Regions from separate parts of the Homo sapiens genome. Here regions 1 and 2 are each linked to region 3. The links are contacts of gene promoters, found by promoter capture Hi-C in human tissues and cell types (Jung and others, 2019). All regions are on one chromosome and are shown on one strand. The core of a region is centred on a gene start or on the middle of the fragment in contact, and the rest is flanking DNA. Distances in the headings are between cores, read along the strand shown. Region 1 holds the start of GIPC1 (GIPC PDZ domain containing family member 1). Region 2 holds the start of TRMT1 (tRNA methyltransferase 1). Region 3 holds the start of DCAF15 (DDB1 and CUL4 associated factor 15).

Region 1 (3,534 bases), core at 728-3,227, 540 kb before region 3:
AAACAACAACAACAACAAAAATTAGCCAGGTGTGGTGGTACATGCCTGTGGTCCCAGCTACTCGGTAGGCTAAGATGGGAGGATTACTTGAGCCTAGGAGGTGGAGGTTGCAGTGAGCTGAGATCCTGCCACTGCATTCCAGCCTGGCCAACGGAGCTAGACACTGTCTCAAAAAAAAAAAAAAAAAAATTCAGAAAGGAGGTGCCCAGTGCTGCTCTGTGTCTTGAGCAATCCCACAATCCCATCACCCCTTCTCCGGGCACTTCCTCATCAGGAAACAGGAGCCAGTTGGAGTCTGGCTCAGGACTCTGCAGCCTCAGTCATGCTGTCCCCTGGGCTCAGCATCCCGTCCTCTCCAAGTGTGCAGGGGGCAGCTTAGATGCCAGGCTCAAGCAGGGCAGGCAGCACAGTCCCACAGAGGGTACTGGCCAGCCCAGGCAACTGATTGCTCAGTGGGATGGCAGAGGTCAGCAGAACAGGAAGGGACGGACAATAGCTGTGCCTGTTGCCTGGCCTGCCACAGCAATCTCGGTGTTTGCCAGCTGGGTGGGGCTGGCTAGGCAATCCTCAGCAGCAAAGCTCAAGGTTCCATCTCCCATTTTAGTTTGCCCCTCTGCAGGTCCTGGTGGGACTGATATGCACAACATCTCACCCTGGGAACTGCAAAGAACCAGTCTTTCTATGGAGCTTGAGCAGGGTCTCAGCACTTAGAGGCTTCCAGGAACTACAGTTCCCAGAACACACAGCATTCAGCCCCAGTTGCTGTCCAAGTGGCTGGGTTTGAACTAGAACAAGGAAATCTCACTTGTCCCGGGAACTGAGCGTCCTGGCCTGGTCCAGGTGCATTTGTGACTCTTGTTTCTTGGATCTGTGTCCACCTGATAAATCCCCCTTCCTTATAAACTACATGGTCTATTTGTCCACACAGGTTTGCTGAGAACCTGCCGTGTGGCAGCCTGAGGTGGGAGTGAGGGGTTGACAAGAGAGACTCAGCCTCCACCCTCACAGTCAGATGGAGGAGACAGATCTATGAAAGGCTGGCTGGGTACCTTCTGTGACCTAGCACATAAACAAACCAACAAGCAGATAAACTATCTCACCCTTGTCTTTCATTGCATCTTGCCTTTCCACACTGATTTACTAGCTCCCACGATATTGCAGTATCCTAAAGCGTGCTGTATCTCTCTGTCCGGCTTTTGCACGCTCTGTTACCTCTACCAGGAGCACATTCAGCTTATTCACTGACGCGTCTTCAGAGGTAGGACAGAGTCTGGCACGGAGCAGTCTGGCACATTAAATATTTGATGAGTGAGTGAACGAATGAATGAATGAATGCCTTTGTCCATTGTACAGCCCAGGAAGCAGGGAAACTCGGGACCCTCCCTATTCATCTCGATCCCCCGCCCGCCCCCAGAGATTGAATGCATCTTTTTATCCGCTCCGAGGATGGCCAGGCTGGGGCAGAGGAGGCCGGGCAGGGAACTGGGTTGGGGACTGCCATTGACCCCCACCCAGGTCTCCTAAACTGTCCGCTTTCCTGGACGTCGGAAGTTCGAATCCTTTCCCCGAAACCTGGCCTAGGTCACCTGACTCCCCCGCCCCTCACCACCCAGGGCACCCGAGACTGACACTCAGCCGACAGCACGTGGTTCAGGGGCCCCAGCTTCCTTCCCATTGGCCGCTTGTCTCCTTCCTCCCTCGCGATTGGCCGGGGCCCAGCTGCAGCTCCCCCCCCTCCTCAGCCCTCCGGTGGTACAGCCAGCCGCGGCTTAGGCGGGGCGGAACGGTCCACTGCTTCGCGGCGAGGGGAGGAGTCGGGAAGAGCCGGGCGAGGCGGAGGGATCCCTCTGGAATGTTTCCGTCGGGTCCACCCGAAGCGGAAGACGCGGATTGGCTGCGAGCACCGAGAGGCAGCCGCTGATTGGCCGGCCGCGGGCGTCGGCCCCGCCCCCCAGGCGCCGCTGCGGGAGAGGCCCGGTCTGGAGTTTGCGGAGGGCCGAGCCGGGTGCGCACGGGGAGGCGGAGGCAGCGGCGGCGGCGGCGGCGGCGGCGGCGGCGGCGGAGCAGGTGAGTGGCCTCTGCGAGAAGGATGTGTCTGCTCCGGGGGCCTCGGGGGTCGCGGGCCTGCGAGGATCCGGCCGATCCTGCAGGGTGGGGCCGGCGCCGTGGACGCGACTGGAGGTCTAGGCTGCGCGCGGGGATGCCGGAGGCCCCTTCCCAGGGGAAGCGGGGGTGGGGGGTGGTGGGGGCAGCTCCCTTCCTGCTGGCGGGCAGGGGACAAACGCCTCCCAACGCTGGGCTGGGGTTTCTGGGCTTGCCCCTCCCCCCGTCCCCCGGCTGGACTGTCCCCATCCCAGCGTGGACAGGCGCGGGGTCAGTGTTTCTGACCCTTTCCTGGGCACTTCCCCTGAGCTAACCGCGTCTGAACCCTCCAGGGCCTTGGGGGGGACGCAGTGAGGACCACGGTCTGAATAATAATCGTCATGAAAAACTCCACCTCAGCTAGCATTTATTGGAGAGCTTCCGTGTCAGGCATTTACCATGAGGATAATTGACTCTAAACACCTCATGGGAGGTGCTGTGCCTTCTTGTAAAAAAGGTGAGGCAGCCTACCCAGAGAGGTGGAGTGACTTGCCCAAGGTCACACAGCTAGTAACTGGCACATCTGGGACTGGAACTCATGCCCCAGGGTCCAGAACTGGAGTCACACCCACTAGACTGGATACCAATAACTCCACGGCTCAGTTGTTGCTGAGTAGCTCCGGCCCCCTACCCCTCCCACCCCCTACCCCGTACTCATCATCAGGGCCACACCTGCTGGTCTTTTGCTTTACCAGCCACTCAAACAGGAAGCTGCCCTCCTTTCCCTTCTCCCCAGAGCTGGAGAGGGCAGGTCTAACTACCTGGGTCCAGAGAAGAGAGTGGCGTCTGCAGGGGGCCAGGATGCTGGGGTCTGGGCCCACTGGGTTCCCCCCTGGCAACCTGGGCCGAGGCTGGGAAGTAGGCGTTCTCCCCGGAAACACCCAGGAGCCGGTTTTTCAAGAGTGAATCAGAGGCCTCTTTCCCTCCTTCTCTCCAAAGCAACACTGTGCTGGAACGGGGAGCCTGGGCGTGGTTTCCCCCTTCCCCTAGCTTCTGTGTGCTCCCAGGAACCCCCTTCCCCTCCTCCTGCTGGCCACACTGCTTCTGTGTGGCCGTGGGGTTGCTAAGTTTCAGGCCCTTCCCAGGATGAGGGGGTGAGGATGCTGAAATTCCAGCCCAAACACTCAATATCCGGGCTGAAGTGGCTCTTCATCTCTGTGTTCAGGTGTGAGGGGAGCCAGGGAAAGTGGGGAGCCTAGGACAGTTGGCAACCGCACAGCAGGCATGTTTAGGGGGCTGTTTCAAGGATGGGGAGCACAGAGAGCAATCAGAACGAGGACCTGAGACACATTCATTCACTCAGTCTACAAATATTTAGTGAGCACCTGCTACGTGCATGTGCTAGGCACTGTTCTTGGCACAGAAAATGCAACAGTGAACAAAACAAAATCC
Region 2 (3,503 bases), core at 277-2,776, 840 kb after region 3:
GCGCCGAGCGAGCGCAAGCCGCGCTGCCGCCGCAGCCAGGCCAGGGAGGAGCGGCCCCGGCCCCGCCCGCGCACCGCCCTCGGGCCCCGCCCTCCAGGCGAGGCCAGCCGAGCTCCGAGCGCGCCCCTTCTAACCGGCTCCGTCTCCTCTCTATGCCCCTGGGGGATCCTCGCCAGTACGTCGGCTCAGCTCGATGGTTCGAATCCTGGCCCCGCCACCTTCTAGTCCCGCGACCTTGGGCAAGTCGCTCTACCTTTCCGAACTTTAGTTTCCTGTAAAACAAAAACAATAATGACTGCTGTTTATTGTGGCAGGCACTGCGTTACATTCTTTATGGGAATTAGCTCGTTTAAACTACACAGTAACATTTTTTAGTGAGAACTGCTACAGACACACTATAGAAAATAAAGGCAGCTGGGCGCGGTGTCTCACGCCTGTAATCCCAGCACTTTGGGAGACCGAGGTGGGTGGATCGCCTGAGGTCAGGAGTTCGAAACCAGCCTGGCCAATATGGTGAAACTCTGTCTCTACTAAAAATACAAAAATTAGCCGGGCGTGATGGCATGCGCTTGTAATCCCAGCTACTCGGGAGACTGAGGCAGAAGAATCGCTTGCACCCGGGAGGCGGTGGTTGCAGTGAGCCGAGATCATGCCACTGCACTCCAGCCTGGGCGAGACTCCGTCTCAAAAAAAAAAAAAAAAGAAAGAAAGAAAGAAAAGGAGGCACAGAGAAATGAAGAAAGCTGGTCAAGATCATCACACAGCAAGGAAGTGATGGTAGGTGCCAGGATTTAAACACAGGCTCAAAAGCGACAATAAGACCTAAGACTTTTATGATGCTTACCGGATGCTAGGTTCTGTTAGCATTTTACCTGCACTAACTCGTTTACTTCTCACTACAACCCAGTAACAAATGGTAAAAAAAAGTTCTGCCCATTTTGCAAAAGCGGTAACTTAAGTTCAGAGTTAACAAGTCGCAGGGCGAGCTGAGACTGGAACCCAGGTAGCCGGGACCACTTCGCTGTCCTGCCTTCATACACTGGTTAGAACTTTACCGAGCGCTTACAATGTTAGAGTGGTTCTTTGCACACTTTCCAGGAATCTGTCATTTAATCTTTGCTCTATCTGAGAAACCACGATTCTCATTTAATAGGTAAGAAAAGTGAAGCCGCGGGAGTAACCTGCCCAGAGCATGTGATGGGACTGAGATTCAAACCCGGTAAATCCAACTCCAGAGCCTGAGTCATTCCTGCAGGGTGCTCTGAAATAATGTGTATATAGCACCCAGAACACAGAAGAGGACCAATAAGTGTTGGGTTTCTCCGCTTACCGCCCCTTTTCTGAGCCACAACTTCCTCATCTGTGAAATGGGACTAGGGACGTGTCCTCTCCCAGGGGATCCACTGTGATTAACACCCCCGGAACAGCACGATCAGCGCGCTTCCTTTATGGCTTTCATTTTGATCCCGGCCGCCCACCGTACGTTTCCTCATTGACTGGCCAACCACTATCATGTGATTCGCCCACCCACTGTGCCAACATGGCGGCGCCCAGGTCCTAATTCGGGAAACGTGCACCTTGACTAATTCGGTTTTCTGTGGCTACGAGAGCAGGTGAGGACGGGCTAGGCAGCGCGGGGAGGGATTCGGACTCGGGGCGGGCCTGCACGAGGGCATCGGCTCCACAGGGACCAGTCATCCCCAAAACGAGGGGATATCAGCTTACCGAGGCCGCAGGTTTTCCTAGTCCCTACCTCATAGATATGTAGGACATCCCCGGGCCCGGAATGCGGCTCTCTGACCCTCTCTGTGCCCTCCCCCGCCCCCCGAACCAGGCTTGGCGGGCGGAGGCGCCAGCGGATGTCTCATGCAAGGATCGTCTCTGTGGCTAAGCCTCACTTTCCGCTCCGCCCGGGTGCTCTCTAGAGCCCGGTTTTTCGAGTGGCAGTCTCCAGGGCTGCCGAATACAGCAGCGATGGAGAACGGCACCGGGCCCTACGGAGAAGAACGTCCACGTGAAGTCCAGGAGACGACAGTCACCGAGGGGGCTGCCAAAATCGCCTTTCCCAGTGCCAACGAGGTCTTTTATAACCCGGTGCAGGAATTCAATCGGGACCTGACGTGAGCAGGGGTCAGACGTTAGCCTGGCATCGGCTAGTGGGTCAGTGTGGATGGCGGGGGCGGGGTATGAGCTAGTCCTCTGTCTCCCACCAGATGTGCTGTGATCACCGAGTTTGCTCGCATTCAGCTTGGGGCCAAAGGAATCCAGAGTGAGTGGAGGTCCAGGCTTCTGGTGGGCGGGGGTCACACAAGTTTATCTCCCTGCCTGGGCTCTTCTGCCGCCCAAATCCAGAGGGGCTTCAGCCACATAGCAGGCCCTGGGTTCTGCTCCTTCAGCCTTTCCGCAGGGATTTCAGGGACGATATTTTGGAGATTAAGGGGAGGTTTCTCAGAGGGGACCTTGTTATTCTCTGACTTGTGCCTCTGGGTGGCTGCAGTCAAGGTTCCAGGAGAGAAGGACACGCAAAAAGTGGTCGTGGACTTGTCAGAGCAAGAGGAGGAAAAGGTTGAACTGAAAGAGAGTGAAAACCTGGCCTCAGGAGACCAACCTCGCACAGCGGCCGTGGGGGAGATCTGTGAGGTGGGGCCTGAGCATAGGAGCTGGCAGCCCTGGAATTTAGCGGGAGACAGAGGGCTCCTGGAGGGGGAGAGCTATAGGAGGTGGGTGGTGGGGGCTCCTTGGGGCCCAGAAGAGGATGGAGGTGGAGATGTGAGGGAGGTTTTCTGCTTACTCCAACAGGAAGGCCTGCATGTGCTGGAAGGCCTGGCAGCTTCAGGCCTACGTTCCATTCGATTTGCCCTAGAGGTGCCTGGGCTCAGATCTGTGGTTGCAAACGATGCCTCCACCCGGGCTGTGGATCTCATACGCCGGAATGTCCAGCTCAATGACGTGGCCCACCTGGTACAGCCGAGCCAAGCAGATGCCCGGTAGGTTCTGGGCATCACAGCCTAGCTCTGGGACAAGCCTGCCTGGGGTCAAATTCTGGCTCTGTCACATTCTCACTCTGTGACCTTGAGTGAGTGACTTAGCCTCTTTGAGCCCCAGTTTCCTTGTCTGTCAACTGAGAAAATTAGTTTTACAGGGGTTGCTGTGATGAGTAATAGATAATTATGGTATGATCCATACTCTGTGCCAGAAATAAGTAGCATCCTGGTCTCTGTTTTAACTTCTTACACTCCTTTTATTCATTCAAATGAGCCATAGTATATCCAGTGTCTGCTATGTGTCAGGCACCGTTTTCAAGAACTGGAAATGCATCAGGAAACAAAACATGCAAAATTGGTGACCTTCGCAAGAGTTGGCAAACTATAGCCTGTGGGGCTCACAGCCTTTTTTTGTTTGTTTGCTTGTTTGTTTGTTTTTTGAGATGTAGTCTCGCCCTTGTTGCCCAGGCTGGAGTGCAGTGGCACGATCTCAGCTCATTGCAACCTCCGCCTCCCGGG
Region 3 (3,903 bases), core at 69-2,568:
CCTAACCAATGACCCAACGCCCCCTTCCCAATTAACTACCGCCTTCCAACGGAATCCAAGGGAATCCCTCATCCCCAAAACTTCACCGCGGAAGGATCTGCGGGGACTGACAGGCAGAAGCCAGGCACAGGGATATCCGAACAGCCTCAGTCTTGCTACCCAACTCTGCCTTCAAGACATTCCAATCTGATGGGAAGAGTCCTGTCTGGGAAGCTCCCTGTCTGATGGGAGACAGCCCTGTCCACATGGAGGTCTCAGTCTGACGGAGGAAACAGCCTGGCCAGCCAGGCCCAGGCCGACAGGGGAGACACAGTCCCTGCCCAAGGAGCTTCCAAGCTAAGGGCGGAACCACAGCCAAGCCCAGGGAGCTCCCAGGCTAAGGGCGGAGACTGTCCCAGCCCAGGGAGCTCCCAGTCAAAAGGGGGAGACACAGCACTGCCCTTACAAAGCTACCAGCCTCACGGAGAAGGCGCAGTCCCTGTCCACAGAGACACAGCCTTGCCCCAGTTACTGCCCACCTGCAAGAGATCCACATTTCTGCCCTCCAGAGCTCCCAAACTGATGGGGGAGAGAGACATCATCCCCCAGCTCTGGGAGTTTCCAGTCTGATGGAGGAGACAGAGCCTGCTTCGGTAACTCTCACTCTGCGGGGGAAGACTCAGCCCTATCCAGGGAGCTCCCACACTTTCAATGGGGAGGCCCACCCAGGTACTGGAACTCCCAGCTCATGTGTGGTCGGGGCTTGGGCAGGGAGAGGAACATCAGGCGGAGGAAGCCCAAAGCCAGCGGCAGGGGCTCTGCAAAGGGGGCGGGAAGGTTCCATTATGGAGCAACCATGGGAGCAGAGCTTTGAAAAGCCTGGATCGCCCCCTTCCTCCTGATTCTCCCTGCGGCCTCTGGGGTCGCCTCCCTCCGAGCCCCCTCCCTGGGGCCCCGCCCCCAACCCCCTCCATCCCAGCCCCTTTGCCGGTCACCCGACACAACCACCTGCATCCAGGCCCCCAACTGAGCCCCCTCCATCCAAGCCATCTCCCCCGGGCCCCGCCCAGGCCCTGCATCCGAGCCCCCTCCCCTGGGGCCCCGCCCCCAACCCCTCACCCCGCGAACGCCCTCCTCCCTCCGCCTCCCTCGTCCCTACTCCCCACCCTCCGGCGCGCTCCCCACTCCGGCTCCAGGCCTCACCTTGACCCGCTCCAGCTGCTTGAGGACGTGCTCCCGCCGCCGCCCTGCTGCCCGCTTCCCTCCGGCTCCCCCGGGGCCGCCGCCGCCGCTCCCAGCCCCGCTGTTCCGCTCCGATTTCGAGCTGGGCGCCATTTTCACCCCCTCCCTCCACTTCCGGAGCAACCGGCCCCTTCGCCCCACCCCTGCCGCCTCCTCATTGGTCCTTTTTCGGGACAGCGGCCCGCCGGTTGGGCGAAAGCCCGCACTCGCGCTATGCCTGTCCATCAAAGCCATCTCGACTCTTGATTGGTAGCGACAGTAACAGCCCCCGCGGCCCGTTGCCGTATTCCCGCCCCGCCTTAAGGACGTACCACTCGGAGGTCCCGTTTGTTCGCCCTGCCCAGATAACTTTGATCTGATAGGTGAATATCTCTGTCTGTCTCAACGGCGTCACGCCCCCTGTGGCTGGCGGGTTTCCATGGAGACCACAGGCGGTCCAGGCCCTTGGGCGGGGCGACGGGAGCCTGTGGTCCACCAAGGCTCGAGAATCCTCAGCCCCGGGCTGCCCGCGCCCGGTCCAGGTGGGCAAAGGCCTGACGAGCATACTTGGGCGGCAGAGCCAGGCCGAGGAAAGAGATTTACAAAAAAGGAAAAAACGATGGGATTCGATGAAAGCTTGTTTCCGATGGGCGGGTTGGTGGGATGATGGTGGTGATAATGATAGCATCAATCATGGATCGCTCCACATGTGACAGACACGGTTCTGAGCTTAAACAGTTCGATGTGGCAGGGCCCTGTTGTGCCAATTATGCAGATCATAGCAATAAAAATAATTGTTGAAGGTCCGCTCCGTGCATCATATTCGTATACATTACCTCATTTATTTTATTTTTTTAGACAGAGTCTCACTTTGTCACCCAGGCTGGAGTGCAGTGGCGTGATCACGGTTCACTGCAGCCTCGACCCCGGGCTCAGATGATCCTCTCACCTCAGCCTCTCATGTAGCTAGGACTACAGGCGTGCGCCACCACGCCTGCCTAATTTTTTGTATTTTTAGTAGAGACGAGGTTTCACTATGTTGGCCAGGCTGGTTGCGAACTCCTGACCTCAGGTGATCCGCCCGCCTAGGCCTCCCAAAGTGCTGGAATTACGGGCATAAGCCACCGCGCCCGGCCTAATTTTTTGTATTTTTTGTAGGGACGGAGTTTCACCAAGTTGTCCAGGCTGGTCTCCAACACCTGGGCTCAAGTGATCCTCCCACCTCTGCTTCCCAAAGTGTTGGGAGGACAGGTGTGAGCCCCCACCCCTGGCCAGCCCATTTAATCCTCTGAACAATCTAGAAGATAGTTTTTTTTTATTGTCTTCATTAAAAAAATTTTTTTTGTAGAGATGGGGTCTCACTATGTTGCCCAGGCTGCTCGAAAACTCCTGACCTCAAGGGATCATCCCGTCTTGGCCTCCCAAAGTGCTGGGATTACAGGCATAAACCACTGTGCCCAGCTGATTTCAAGGGTTTTAGGAGTTATGTACTAGAAAACCTAAGACCAAAATATGGTTTTTTAAAAATATATCACAACACAATATCACAACATATCTTTTTTTTTTTTTTTTTTTTTGAGATGGAGTTTTGCTCTTGTTGCCCAGGCTGGAGTGCAATGGCACAATCTCAACTCACTGCACCCTTCACCTCCCGGGTTCAAGCAAACGATTCTCCTGCCTCAGCCTCCCAAGTAGCTGGGATTACAGGCATGTGCCACCATGCCCGGCTAATCTTTGTATTTTTAGTAGAGACAGGGTTTCACTATGTTGGCTAGGCTGGTCTCAAACTCCTGACCTCAAGTGATCCACCCACCTCACCCTCCCAAAGTGCTGAGATTACAGGCGTGAGCCACTGCGCCCGGCCATCACAATGTATCTTTAGCCAAAGGTTCCCCTGCTTCTTGCATACCCTACGTCCATGGAGAGCAAAGCTGTCTCCAAGACAGTGGGGACACCTGGCAGCTACTGCCTTAACCAAGTGATCAAAATCAACATCACCAGTGATAAGTCATACTGACATCACGGACCCCAGCTATGTGATAGGGAGGACATTTGTAACTGTCTGATATTATCCCCAAACCTAGAACCTCAATCTAACCATTAGACAACATCAGACATTTATCCCAGATTGAAGAAGGTTCTCAAAATACATGACCAGGCCAGGTGCGGTGGCTCATGCCTGTAAGCCCAGCACTTTGGGAAGCAGAGGAGGGAGGATCACTTGAACCCACGAGATCAAGACCAGCCTGGGCAACATGGCGAAACCCTCATCTCTACAAAACATCAAAGAAATTCACTGACTCTACTGGCACACGCCTATAGTTTCAGCCACTCGGGAGGCTGAGGCAGAAAGATTACTTGAGCCCAGGAGGTCAAGGCTGCAGGGAGCTATGATGGTGCCACTGCACTCCAGCCTGGGAGACAGAGCGAGACCTTGTCTCAAATAAAAAACAAAACAAGGCCAGGCATGGTGGATCACGACTGTAATCCCAGCACTTTGGGAGGCTGAGGTGGGCAGATCACAAGGTCATGAGACTGAGACCATCCTGGCTAACACAGTGAAACCCCGTCTCTACTAAAAATACAGAAAATTAGCCGGGCCTGTAATCTCAGGTGGCACACGCCTGTAGTCCAGCTTCTCGGGAGGCTGAGGCAGGAGAATCACTTGAACCTGGGAGGTGGAGGTTTCAGTGAGTCGAGATC

The links. Contacts are between HindIII fragments. The study calls those that stand out against the background at their distance.
Region 1: a contact is called between the fragment with the promoter of GIPC1 here and the fragment with the promoter of DCAF15 in region 3, in 1 of the 25 tissues and cell types used here (spleen).
Region 2: the fragment with the promoter of TRMT1 here is called in contact with the fragment with the promoter of DCAF15 in region 3 in 2 of the 25 tissues and cell types used here (H1 embryonic stem cells and lymphoblastoid cells).

The regions. Positions count from the first base shown.
Region 1 is chr19:14,494,570-14,498,103 of GRCh38, reverse strand. It overlaps GIPC1 (GIPC PDZ domain containing family member 1), which reads left to right and starts at 1,977. Exons shown (of 9, transcript NM_005716.4): 1 at 1,977-2,067. RefSeq lists enhancers at 1-455, 1,736-2,662 and silencers at 1,644-1,703, 1,844-2,073. The HindIII fragment of the contact is 12,252 bases long and covers 1-3,534 here.
Region 2 is chr19:13,114,763-13,118,265 of GRCh38, reverse strand. It overlaps TRMT1 (tRNA methyltransferase 1), which reads left to right and starts at 1,526. Exons shown (of 17, transcript NM_001136035.4): 1 at 1,526-1,613; 2 at 1,835-2,120; 3 at 2,214-2,269; 4 at 2,498-2,640; 5 at 2,800-2,987. The coding sequence starts at 1,867. It overlaps NACC1 (nucleus accumbens associated 1), which reads right to left and starts at 2. Exons shown (of 6, transcript NM_052876.4): 1 at 1-2. RefSeq lists a silencer at 1-192 and enhancers at 233-382, 1,343-1,532. The HindIII fragment of the contact is 33,521 bases long and covers 1-3,503 here.
Region 3 is chr19:13,949,924-13,953,826 of GRCh38, reverse strand. DCAF15 (DDB1 and CUL4 associated factor 15) reads right to left here and starts at 1,318. Exons shown (of 13, transcript NM_138353.4): 1 at 1,183-1,318. The coding sequence starts at 1,314. It also overlaps a transcript of PODNL1 not described here. RefSeq lists a silencer at 1,096-1,235 and an enhancer at 1,896-1,945. The HindIII fragment of the contact is 40,615 bases long and covers 1-3,903 here.